Regions from separate parts of the Homo sapiens genome. Here region 1 is linked to region 2. The links are contacts of gene promoters, found by promoter capture Hi-C in blood cells and fetal thymus (Javierre and others, 2016). All regions are on one chromosome and are shown on one strand. The core of a region is centred on a gene start or on the middle of the fragment in contact, and the rest is flanking DNA. Distances in the headings are between cores, read along the strand shown. Region 1 overlaps ZMYM3 (zinc finger MYM-type containing 3). Region 2 holds the start of SNX12 (sorting nexin 12).

Region 1 (6,024 bases), core at 49-2,548, 180 kb before region 2:
ATTCTCCAATAACACTGCAGTCCCCACATATTGAAGAGGAGGAGACCACCTCCATAGCTACTGCAAGAAGGGGCTCCCCTGGGCAGGAGGAGGAGCTTCCCCAAGGGCAGCCACAGAGCCCAAATGCCCCGCCTAGCCCTTCAGTGGGAGAGACTCTGGGGGATGGAATCAACAGTTCTCAGACCAAACCTGGGGGCTCTAGCCCCCCTGCACATCCTTCCTTGCCAGGTAGGTTGCCTAATTATCTGGAGAATCAGGGCTGGGAGAGGGTGGTGGTAAGGAGGGGTGGCTATGTGCTTTGGGAAGTAGTGGGGAGGAGGAGGGTGGAGAGATAAGTGTAGGGATGTGTGTGGGGAAGGACTTGGGGTTTACGAGGGAGGAGTGGGGTGGTGTGTAGAGGAAGATTAAGGAAAGTAGGGGTGGGCACAGGCTGTGGGGGAGGAATGGGGTAAGGTTTCAGGGAGCGTAGGTTGGGAGGAGTGAATTTGGTGGGAAGGGTTCCCTTTTTCCTACCCCAGTGGGCTTTTGGTGCCAGAGTCCTTCCTTCAGGATTTGGGGGAGTACACCAGGCTTCTTGGTTCTAAGACCTTTACAGCTTTTTGGTTCTAGATGGGAGTGGGATTTCTGGGTTTGATGAATGGTAACTAGGTTCTGGAGCCCCTAACAGCATAAGGATTTCAGCAGAGCGATAGAAATGCAGGGTCTAGGATTGCGTCTCTGATAGGGGAGGGACAACCTTGACTTGAGAGGCTCTAGTGTCTCCCCTCTTCTGCCTAGTGGTGTGCCTCTATCAGGCTGTGACGAGGGTCTTAGGGCTTATATAACCACCTGAATCCAGGGGAAGCTACCCATACACTGATGCTTCCTTTTCCTTTTGCTACCTTTGGGTGGTTGTGTGTGTTTTTCATTGGTAAAATATAAATTCTTAATGAAAGGTATATTACCTGTGTTTCCTTAACCCCCAAGGATTGGGACAGAAAGCTGGTGGGAAGGATAGATTTTTTTTTTTTCATGGAATAGCTGCACGTGCACCCCCCCACCCTTAGTACAGAGCCTGAGGTAACCCTGAGAGGGGCCCCAAGAAGCCACAGGCACTCGAGTTTTCCCTTTCAGTTTTGAGTAAGTTCTTCCCCAGGAATGGAGGCGGGGGTTGGGCCGGGGAGAGGGTGGTGAGGGCAGGCTCAACATTTAGGCTGCCTTCTGCTTCCTTTGCAGGAGATGGCCTGACTGCGAAGGCGAGTGAGAAGCCGCCTGAACGGGTGAGGGGGAGGGGATTGGAAGGAGTCTGGTTCCCCCTTAGCTCTGGGAAGGACAGACCCTTCATTTTCCCTCCCAGATGTTGTTCTGTAGAGAGTGTGTGTAAGGAGAGTTAGGAGGAGGGAGGGAGCACTAGTGTCTACTGCTTGTTGGGGAGAAAGTCCAACCTCCTTTTCTTCCCTCCTCCTAAGGGCTGGGCCAAGGGTCCCCACTCTCCCTTCCCCCTCCCATCTTCTATCCCCCCCCAAACCCTGTACTAGTGTTAGCCTGGCCAGGGTGTCAGTTTTCCTCCCCTCCCATCTTTCCGAGGTACAGAAGAGAAGCGAGCGCGTTAGGAGAGCAGAACCTCCAAAACCTGAGGTTGTAGATTCCACTGAGAGCAGTAAGTAGGATTTGAGGAAGTGTGACCTGGGAGTTCTGGGTGTGGAAAAGGTCCGAAAGTGGCATGCGGCAGGGCATGGATCTTCTAGCTCCTGCCGTCCTGCTCCATGAAGCGCATGAAGTGCCTGTCTCTGCTATGGGTTGGCATGGGAACCAGGGGCAGTGGGGGAAATTGAAAACAAGAGCAGTGAGAATGGCGAGTTTCCTGTTTCAGCTATGCCATCTCTGTCTCCGAATCTTCTCATTTAGAGCCTCTCCCTTTCCCTCCCTGGGAGGTTACAGAGTAACCAAGGGAGAGAGACACCAAGGTCTTAAGATACTGATGTAACAAGGGCCAGGGTGTAAAGGCCGGAACAACAGGGATCCCAGGAGAGGGACTGAACTGTTGGTCAGGGGATGGTTGGAGACCTGGTTTGGTGGCCTTTCTCATGTCCATCCCCCCACTTTCTCAGTTCCAGTGTCAGATGAGGATTCTGATGCCATGGTAGATGACCCCAATGATGAGGACTTTGTGCCATTCCGGCCCCGGCGCTCTCCTCGCATGTCCCTACGCTCAAGTGTGTCACAAAGGGCCGGGCGCTCTGCAGTGGGCACCAAGATGACTTGTGCACATTGCCGGACACCACTGCAGAAGGGGCAGACTGCCTATCAGCGCAAGGGGCTGCCTCAGCTCTTCTGCTCGTCATCCTGCCTCACCACTTTCTCCAAGAAGCCCTCGGGCAAAAAGACCTGTACCTTCTGCAAGAAGTGCGTGAGGGTCTTGGGGGCTATGCAGAGGGCAGGGATCTGGGCAGGAGTATGAGTAAGACAGAGACTGTTGGTAAGAACCTAGCAGGATGGAGCTGGGCGAGAGAGTGATGTAGGGAGAGAGTCAGAGTATTTGGCTCTGTGGTCATTGATCCTGGAGGAGGGGCGGAAGCTGAGGAAATGAGAGGGTGGTCTTGAGTGAATATTCAAACCTGTTCCCACCTCTAGGGAGATCTGGAACACCAAGGACTCGGTTGTGGCGCAGACTGGTTCTGGAGGCTCCTTCCATGAGTTCTGCACATCCGTCTGTCTCTCCCTGTATGAGGCCCAGCAGCAGCGCCCGATCCCCCAGTCTGGGGATCCCGCCGACGCTACTCGCTGCAGCATATGCCAGAAGACTGGAGAGGTGAGGACACTCAGTGGGGGCTGATTTACAGAGCCTGGCCAGCCCTGACCTGCCCCTCCCATCCTGGGGCTGCAGGGTCCAGGCCCTGTGGAAAGGGGAGTGGGGAGGAAAGGCGGCCATCATGAGGGAGCGTATTCAAGGACAGAGCTTCTCCAGGATGTGCACAGCTGGCCTTCCTTACCTCCCAGGACCTCACCATCAAGTCGGCAGCCTGCGGCGCAGGTTGGGGGGTCCCTGGGCCCACTGTCTGCTGTGAAGGTCTAGGGTGAGGTGGGGGGCTGACCTTGCATTGGGGTGGGCGGTGGTGGCCAGGCCCTAGCTCAGGGTGCGTGTATGTGTGTGGCAGGTCCTGCACGAGGTCAGCAATGGCAGCGTGGTACACCGGCTCTGCAGCGATTCTTGCTTCTCCAAATTCCGGGCCAACAAGGGACTGAAAACCAACTGTTGTGACCAGTGTGGGGCTTACATCTACACCAAGACCGGGAGTCCTGGCCCTGAGCTCCTCTTCCACGAGGGCCAACAAAAGCGGTTCTGCAACACAACCTGCTTGGGGGCGTACAAGAAGGTGGGGCCGAGGGAGTAGTGCATTAGAGGGCTGTGGAAGGGGGTGTGGTTCTTGGGTTATAAATAAAGGTGGCTGATGGGTCAAGGGCTGGGAGAAATAAAACAAATAAAGGGGGTTTCAATTGTATCCGTTATGTTTTATTTTTGAAGCTGGCTGGTGGATACACAGGTCTTTGTTACATCATCATCTATACTTTTTTTGTATGCCTGAAATATTTCATGTTTAAAACATTTAAAAAATAAAAGTGAAGGGACAAATCCAGCCTCAGCCTCTCCTTCCCCATCCTCACAGAAAAACACACGTGTGTACCCATGTGTCTGGTGCAAGACCCTGTGTAAGAACTTTGAGATGCTATCACATGTGGATCGTAATGGCAAGACCAGCTTGTTCTGTTCCCTGTGCTGTACCACTTCTTACAAAGTGAAGCAGGCAGGGCTCACTGGTAGGTGCAAAGCCCTCTTCTCTGAGTCCCCTGCTGGCCTTCTCTCTACCTCCCATACTCCCCTCTTCCAGAGTAATCCTTGCTGCCCGACCTCAGTCCCAACCACATCTCCCCATGGATTTTCTGTTCGTCTCTTACACTGCCTTACACCTTCTGTGTGCTCTCTCTCTCCCTCTCTCTTTCTCTTTTCCTCTCTCTCTTTCTCTCTATGCCCCAGGCCCTCCCCGACCCTGCAGCTTCTGCCGCCGCAGCCTCTCTGACCCCTGTTACTACAACAAGGTTGACCGCACAGTCTACCAGTTCTGCAGCCCCAGCTGCTGGACCAAGTTCCAGGTACTCCAGACCCTGGACCAGGGATAGAAGGGTTTGGCAACATAAAGAGGGTTGGAGAATTGGGGTAGGCAGGCCTGGGCAGAGCAAAGAACAAGCCTGACTCCCCTTCCCCACCGCTGCACACATCTTGCCCCTCCCTTACTTGTCTTCCTTCCCTCCAGCGCACAAGCCCTGAGGGGGGCATTCACCTGAGCTGTCACTACTGTCACAGCCTCTTCAGTGGCAAGCCTGAGGTCTTGGACTGGCAGGTAAGAGCCCCACCCCCACCCACGTCTTGCCACACGACCAGACTGTCTGAAGGGGTCCTTCCACTTGGCCCCTGCTGGGGCCAGATGTTACAGCTTGTCCTCCCTGCCCTGTGCCCCCACCTCAGGACCAAGTGTTCCAGTTCTGCTGCCGTGATTGCTGTGAGGACTTCAAGCGGCTTCGGGGTGTGGTGTCCCAGTGTGAGCACTGTCGGCAGGAGAAACTCTTGCATGAGAAACTCCGATTCAGCGGAGTGGAGAAAAGCTTCTGCAGCGAAGGTAAGGAGATGGGGAAGGGCAGAAGACACTATAACTCCCAGCCAGGGAGAATGGAGGAGAAGGGAGGGAGGCCGGGAAAGTGGTCCATGAGGCAGGGCCTTCTGCCCGGGATGTTCTACCCCCATCTCCCCTAAAGTTTTGGGCACAAGGGGCTGCTTAGAGAGAGGTTTCAGGTATAGCACCTTGAAAAGGTTGGGTCTCTTGCCCTTGGGTATCTGTGTCTCTGGACTCTCTTTCCTCTTCTCCTCTTTCCAGGCTGTGTGCTGCTGTACAAACAGGACTTCACTAAGAAGCTGGGCTTGTGCTGTATCACTTGTACTTACTGCTCCCAGACCTGCCAGCGCGGAGTCACCGAGCAACTGGATGGCAGCACCTGGGACTTCTGCAGTGAGGACTGTAAGAGCAAGTACCTGCTGTGGTACTGCAAGGTAAGGAGGGTCAGCATGCGAGCGAGGCGGGAAAGAGGGCAGTGGGGAGCACGGGCTGTGGTACTGAGCTCGGGGTGTGGACAGATCTCCAGGGAGGGCAGCCAGCCTTCCATCTCTAAGCTGGCCCGATCTCCAAGGGGAGGAGCATGGCTTATCCCGGGGGAAAGAAAGGGCCCAACGCATTTTAGGGAGGCAGGTCTGACCATCCTTTTGACATCCTCAGGCTGCCCGGTGCCATGCGTGTAAGCGCCAGGGGAAGCTGCTGGAGACCATCCACTGGCGTGGGCAGATCCGTCATTTCTGCAACCAGCAGTGTCTTCTGCGTTTCTATAGCCAGCAGAACCAACCCAACCTGGATACCCAGAGTGGGCCCGAGAGCCTCCTGAACAGTGAGTCCCAGGCAGGGGGTACACTCTGTTAGAGGGAGCCTGGACTCTCCTAATCCTAAGCCTAGCCCCTTTCTCCTTCCTCTTGCGTTCAGCTCACCCCTGGCCAGATAGGGTGCTAGTACTGTGAACTGTATTCTCTTTTAGCTTCCGAACCCTGCAGGTACCGGGGGAGTCTTATTTAAAGCTTCTTGGAGTTAGCATCTACTGATTGTCTATGAAATATATATTGTTAGGGAGTGGGTGCCTTTCCTGGTAGGATGGAGCATATAGGGGTTATGGTTACGTTTCTGAGATAAGGAAATCTCAGCATAAACTCTACATTTAGTGAGACTGAAGACTGCTATTTCTAGAATGTTACCCCTGCCCCTCCACAACTCCAGGGATAACAGACTCTTCAGGCTATCTAAGTGGAAGGTCTCAAATGTGGGTTTTGGGGGAAAATGTAATGTTTCATTCTCCAGGAACAAATAATCTTTTAGGCTGCTATTGCTGGGGCATAGAGGAGACTAGATCTGGGATGGCAAGGGGGTCAAATCCTAGAAGTTCCCATCT
Region 2 (6,083 bases), core at 2,436-4,935:
CCCAAAGTACTGGGATTACAGGCGTGAGCCACCGTGCCCGGCCCACAAGCTGTTCTTTTCTGTGCCTGCCCTTTAATGGTTTTCCCAAATGGAAATAGTTTTACATTTTCTGGTTAAAAAATAAATGTAAGTTTATTGTTAAAAAATCAGATCCTTTAGAAAATTATAAAAATATAAAATCCAACTGAAACCCCACCACACAGAGGTAACCGCTGCTACATTTTGGTGCATGTCTTTCCAGACTTTAAAAATTATATATAAATAATTATTTATATATATAAATATATATTTATATATATATTTATATATCTATATATTATATATTTATATATAAATATATTTATATATAAATAATTATATATAATGATATAGATATATAAATATAAATATATAAATATTATATATTTATATATAATATATATAAATATTATATATTTATATATATAATATATAAATATTATATATTTATATATAATATATATAAATATAAATATATATATAAATTAATATATAAATATAATAATTATATATAATATAAACTATAATAATTATATAAATATATAATTATTTATATTTAATTATATATAATTATATGTTTATATTATTTATATATTACATTATATTATTTATAATTATAATTATTTATATTAATTATTATATATAAAATATACATTAATACAAGTGATATCATACTACAATATTTTTTGCCAGCTTTTTTCACTTTTTCATGGACATCATTCTGTATCAACAAGCATAAGAAATTATTTTAAATGGATAGATAGGGGAACTGTAAATTAGGCCATTTACACAAGATAGTGAAATTTATGATGGAAGTGACTAAGATAAAAAGCCTTGTAAAATATAAAATCCACTACCCCTTTATAATACTTGTTATATAAGCAAATTCACAAATTAGAAAAAAAGACTACACAAATATTGCAGAAAATGAACAATTATTTGCTCTTAAAAACAAGAACCTTACACTGGTATCTTTATGTGATTATCTGATTATTTTCTGAGGATAAATTATTGGAAGTAAAACTTTTGAGTTAAAGATTTTGGTAAATAACATTAAAAATAAAAAATACAAAGGCATTATACTTAAACACAGTTAATGAAAAACAACCCTCCCTGCCGTCTGTGACTTCTTTTCTCCAGTTCTGCTCTCCAGAGACAACCAGTATTACAAGTTTCTTCAAGTCAAAGTTTAAAAAAAAAATACATACTGCCAATCTATTTCCCAGAAAGATTGTACCGATTCACATTCCTACCAAAACTGCATGCCCTCACCAACTTTCAAATCTTCTGTCCTTGCCTCTTCATGTTTTTCTTTCTACATGGTATGCTGATGACTCTCATATCTCTATCTCTCTAACCCTGACCTCGCCCTCGAGCTCCAGGCCAGTATTTCCAGCTACTCGCTGGACATCTCCACCTGGATGTTCTACAGACACCCCATATTTATCTAAACTGAACTCATTTTTTACAGATGAGGAAAACTGTTTGTATAATTTGCTCATGGTTATACAGCTAGAAAGCAAGGATTTAAACCCAGGCAGCCTAAGTTCATGGGTCACACATTTAAGCCCTACACTATACTACCACCATATCTAATCACGTACAAGTCGTATCTATTTTATTTCTTCAATCTCTTTCCTATCTCTTCCCTCCTCTCCATTGTCACCATCACCACTTGATTCGGAGTCTTATTGTCAATACCTTCATAATTCAACTTAAATATACCTTCCATGTTGTCTACAAAACAATTCTTCTAAAACATAAATCTGATCATGTATTTTTCCTGCTTAGGATCCTTCAGGGACTCCCTATCACCTACCAGAAAGCTTTGTATCACCTATCATGAAGTCAGAGATCCTTTACTTAATATAAGCGGATCATCCTTTGTCTGCCCATCCCTAGCCAGTCTACCTTTCTAAACACTTCCATCACACAGTCTGAATTGGCGATAAATGCCTAAAAATGCTCCACTGTTTCTTATCGCAAGGACTTTGTGTATTCTTTCTTTCTTTCGCTCTCTCTCTCTCTCTCTTTTCTTTTCCTTTTCTTTCTTTCTTTTTTTGATGGAGTCTTGCTCTGTTGCCCAGGATGGAGTGCAGTGGCATGATCTCAGCTCACTGCAACCTCTGCCTCCCGGGTTCAAGCGATTCTCCTGCCTCAGCCTCCTGAGTAGCTGGGATTACAGGCGTGTGCCACCATGCCCAGCTAATTTTTGTATTTTTAATAGAGACAGGGTTTCACCATGTTGGCCAGGCTGATCTCGAACTCTTGACCTCAAGTGATCTGCCTGCCTCGGCCTCCCAAAGTGCTGGGATTACAGGTGTGAGCCACCGCGCCCGGCCTGCATATGCTGTTTCTTATTCCAGAAATTACCTTTCCCTATTTCCACTCCTATTTGTCCTTTATGTCTTTTCATGTCTGTTAAACTCAGATGTTTCCTCCTCCAGGGGAACCTCCCCTAATTTTTCCAGTTATACATTTCCTATGTGCTGCTTTGAACATTTACTTATTTTGTATTTGTCGCATTATATTAGTTTTGTTTACTTGTCTCCCTTGCTAGAATGTTAACTCCTTGAGGGCAGGGACTCTTATTTAACTCCAGGATTTTAGTGTTTAGCATGGTGCTTGGCACGTATTTGCTTAGTGGATATTGGTTAAATTGAATTAAACAGCAATTGTGAAATTGTAGGGCCTCATACTCTGTTGAAAGAATTTCAGGCATCAGTGATATGGGAAATATTTTTTGAGTAGAGGAGGGCAGGGGAAAGGTGGAGAAAGGATGACCTGAAATCATCACCCAGTCTACCCTTTAATGTGGAGCATATGTAAATTAGTCATATAAATATTAATATTTCTATAGATATTCTCATGTAAACATTTATTCTATCTCCATTATGGGTTGCAAGCAACCTCAGAGCAGTGCCAAGTATGGAGTTCTGCGGAGTAGAAATAGAAGGTATGAAATAAGTACCCTCAATTTGCTGATAAATGTAAGATTGAGTACACCTGGAGTGTGGCAACAAGGAGTAAGATATGCCCAATTTTCCTGAAAAGTAAGAGAGAAATGTCTTTCTTTACCCCATCCTAGTTGCTTGCTGCTTTCCTGGCGCCATACGTAGTGCTGAGTGCGCCATTGTGTGTGGCGTGAACTGAAACCATCAGTGGCACAGGTGGGACGGCTACGTTATAGGTTCTCAGTACTATTGTTGGAACCCCACCCTCCATAGACCACCCTTCTATTTTCGCGGAAAACCAGGACTTATTCAGGTCACTGGGCTTCGGCCTATCACTGTAGGAGCCTGGCTCACGGGGCAGTGCCCACTGTTGATTGATACACGGTACGAGACAATTTCTTGGGTTGAGGAGCCGCGATTGGCGGAGCCAGCCTGTGCTGCTAGGCAGGGTATTGGGTACTGCGTATTGGGGATGCAGGTTCCCGGGTGGCCACAAACATCACCCGGAAGCCTGAATATGGCCTCCACTCTACAGGGCGCGCAGCAGTCAGCACGGCCGCTATTCAGAGCCCGGGGCCCAGGCCCGTGCGGCGTGCGCGTGCGTGCGTGGGCGCGCGTGCGCGCCGCCGCCGCCTGTGGGTTGGCTAGTTATTTTGCAAGCGGGAGGGGCCGTGCGCGCTCCTGCCTCAGGCCTCTGTCCCCCACCCCCTTTCCCCGGTCCCAGGCTCTCCTTCGGAAAGATGTCGGACACGGCAGTAGCTGATACCCGGCGCCTTAACTCGAAGCCGCAGGACCTGACCGACGCTTACGGGCCGCCAAGTAACTTCCTGGAGATCGACATCTTTAATCCTCAGACGGTGGGCGTGGGACGCGCGCGCTTCACCACCTATGAGGTTCGCATGCGGGTGAGTCACGGGGTGAGGGAGACAGCTGAGGGAGGACCGGGCGGCGCGAGCGGGAGGGGGGAGGGAGGCTACCGCGGGGGCAACTAACGGCGGGGAAGACGCCTTAGGGGTCATTTGGGGGTTAGGGGTATAATAGGCTTGGAACGAGGTCTGCCGATTCAGTTGTGGCCGGAGGATGCAGAAAACTCCTGAGGGAGACATCGGACGGGGATGCAGGAAAGCTACCCATGAGGAAGTGAAGCATGGCTGGATAGGGTGGGGTGGATGGAAAAAGATTAGAGTGAGGAATTCAAGGAGATAGGAATCACGGCTGTAGCGACTGAAGGAAGGGAGGGAGGATGGAAGAGGGCTGGGGGATGGAAAGCCAAGGCGATATATCGCTGAGCTCCATAACTAAACTAGGTTGTGAGAAGTCTGAAGAGGGAGGGCAGGAAGGCCGGCTGCTTTCTAATGAGGTCTCCCTGGGATAATGGAGTAAAGCAAAGCCTTGAATTAAAGGGAAGGTAGATTCCAGAAAAGGCAGACAGTAGGCTTGTGGGAGCAGAAATAAGAAAGGGAGTCTCCTTGAGACCGAGCGCTTTCCTAACTTGTGTCGGATCAGCATCTGAAGGAGAGAAATGTTTTATGCTTAAGTTTTCGCAGATACTACGTGCTGTCTCGCCTTGAAACCTGGCCTGGCCCTGGGATTGGTGCCTTGTCAGTCACTGCTTTCATTCTATGTGGATCCTTTAGATTTGAAGTATCCAGAATGTTTATTTCAGTATTTATTGACTCTCGTTTAGGTACTTTGTATATGAATGGCTTTTTGCCCTTTCTGTCCTAGATTACCCTTTTGGATTCTGACCCTGGTCTGTAGTTACTTTAATACATGACATTTCAGAATTGCCCAGGAGTGGCTTCTTCCAGCATGCATGATAGAGGACTTTACTCTCTAGTGCTTAGCCCATAATGCAAGGATGGAATGTGCAGATAGAGTACTTGGTTTGCAGGATCTTTTGCCCACTTGAAGTGGTTATAGGCAAAACAGTTTGAGAATCATTTTCTAGTTTTCCTTATGTTTTCTTCTCAGACTAAAAGGCCAGAATATTCTCTGTGGACAGCATCCTGCTCAAACAGCATTGAAGAACTAAAAGAGTGTATGTGCTTTCATTGTTGAAGGAGTGAATTGAATGAGAAATTGTGGTCTCCTACTTGGGCTTTGAAATCTTATTGAGAAATTATGATTTCCAGATTCCAAGTTTGGCAAAGTCCAAACTGAAGAAAGAAAAGTGAATAGCAAAACATGAGAAACACTTGTCTATATAAGAACTATGTGAAATCATGTCTTTGGGGGAGAATGGAATTTAGGTCCTTCAGAATATGATAAAAGCAGGAAATTGTCAGTGCTGGAGAACTTAGTTACCTGAGGGAGCTTGGGCATGACTAGTACAGCATAAGGGCTGTCTGCTGTGGGGTTTTGGAGACATTCAATGCATTACCCAAGAGTCTTAGGGATTCTGAATGAAATCGCTCTTTACTCAGGGTATTCTTTTTTTTTTTTTTTTTTTTTTAAGAGATGGAGTCTCGTTCTATTGCCCAGGCTGCCGTGCAATGGTGCAATCTCGGCTCGCTGCAACCTCCGCCTCCTGGGTTCAAGCAATTCTCCTGCCTCATCCTCCCGAGTAGCTGGGATTACAGGCACATGCCACCATGCCTGGCTAATTTTTGTATTTTTAATAGAGACGGGGTTTCGCCATGTTGGCCAGGCTGGTCTTGAACTGCTGACCGCAAGTGATCCTCCTGCCTCGGCCTCCCAAAGGGCTGGGATTAGAGGCGTGAGCCACCACGCCTGGCCCTACTCCAGGTATTCTAATAGCAACAGGGACTGTTCATCTAGTGCCTACTGTGTACCAGGCACTGAACTAGGTTTTAATTTGTGTTAATCCTTACAGAACTTCGTTTTACACATGGGAAACTGAGGAGGAATGCAGTTTAAGTAACTTGCCCAAGTACACGTAACTATAACTGACAGGGCTGGAATTTGAACACAAATATGTCTGACTCCATATTCTTTCTGCTACACTTCTGTCTCCTTGACAACACTTAGTAGCAAAACTTTAGCATGCAAAATTTTTCTACTCACTAAACTTTTAATCGGTCCCTTCCACAATTTTTTTTTTTTTCGAGACAGAGTCTCGCTCTGTCACCCAGGCTGGAGTGCAGTGGC

What was found. Contacts are between HindIII fragments. The CHiCAGO score rates a contact against its expected background, and 5 or more counts as called.
Region 1: a fragment that was not itself captured here is called in contact with the fragment with the promoter of SNX12 in region 2 in 1 of 17 cell types (total CD8 T cells); the score reaches 5.4 in total CD8 T cells.

Annotation. Positions count from the first base shown.
Region 1 is chrX:71,246,793-71,252,816 of GRCh38, reverse strand. ZMYM3 (zinc finger MYM-type containing 3) reads left to right here. Exons shown (of 25, transcript NM_201599.3): 2 at 1-228; 3 at 1,216-1,259; 4 at 1,573-1,639; 5 at 2,091-2,385; 6 at 2,614-2,791; 7 at 3,138-3,356; 8 at 3,648-3,798; 9 at 4,016-4,131; 10 at 4,293-4,379; 11 at 4,505-4,655; 12 at 4,911-5,083; 13 at 5,307-5,472. Among named protein-coding and RNA genes, the nearest start is that of ZMYM3, 4.3 kb to the left of the region's middle. The HindIII fragment of the contact is 6,691 bases long and covers 1-4,643 here.
Region 2 is chrX:71,065,936-71,072,018 of GRCh38, reverse strand. SNX12 (sorting nexin 12) reads left to right here and starts at 3,685. Exons shown (of 4, transcript NM_013346.4): 1 at 3,685-3,877. The coding sequence starts at 3,713. RefSeq lists silencers at 3,470-3,689, 3,529-3,722. The HindIII fragment of the contact is 9,631 bases long and covers 1,847-6,083 here.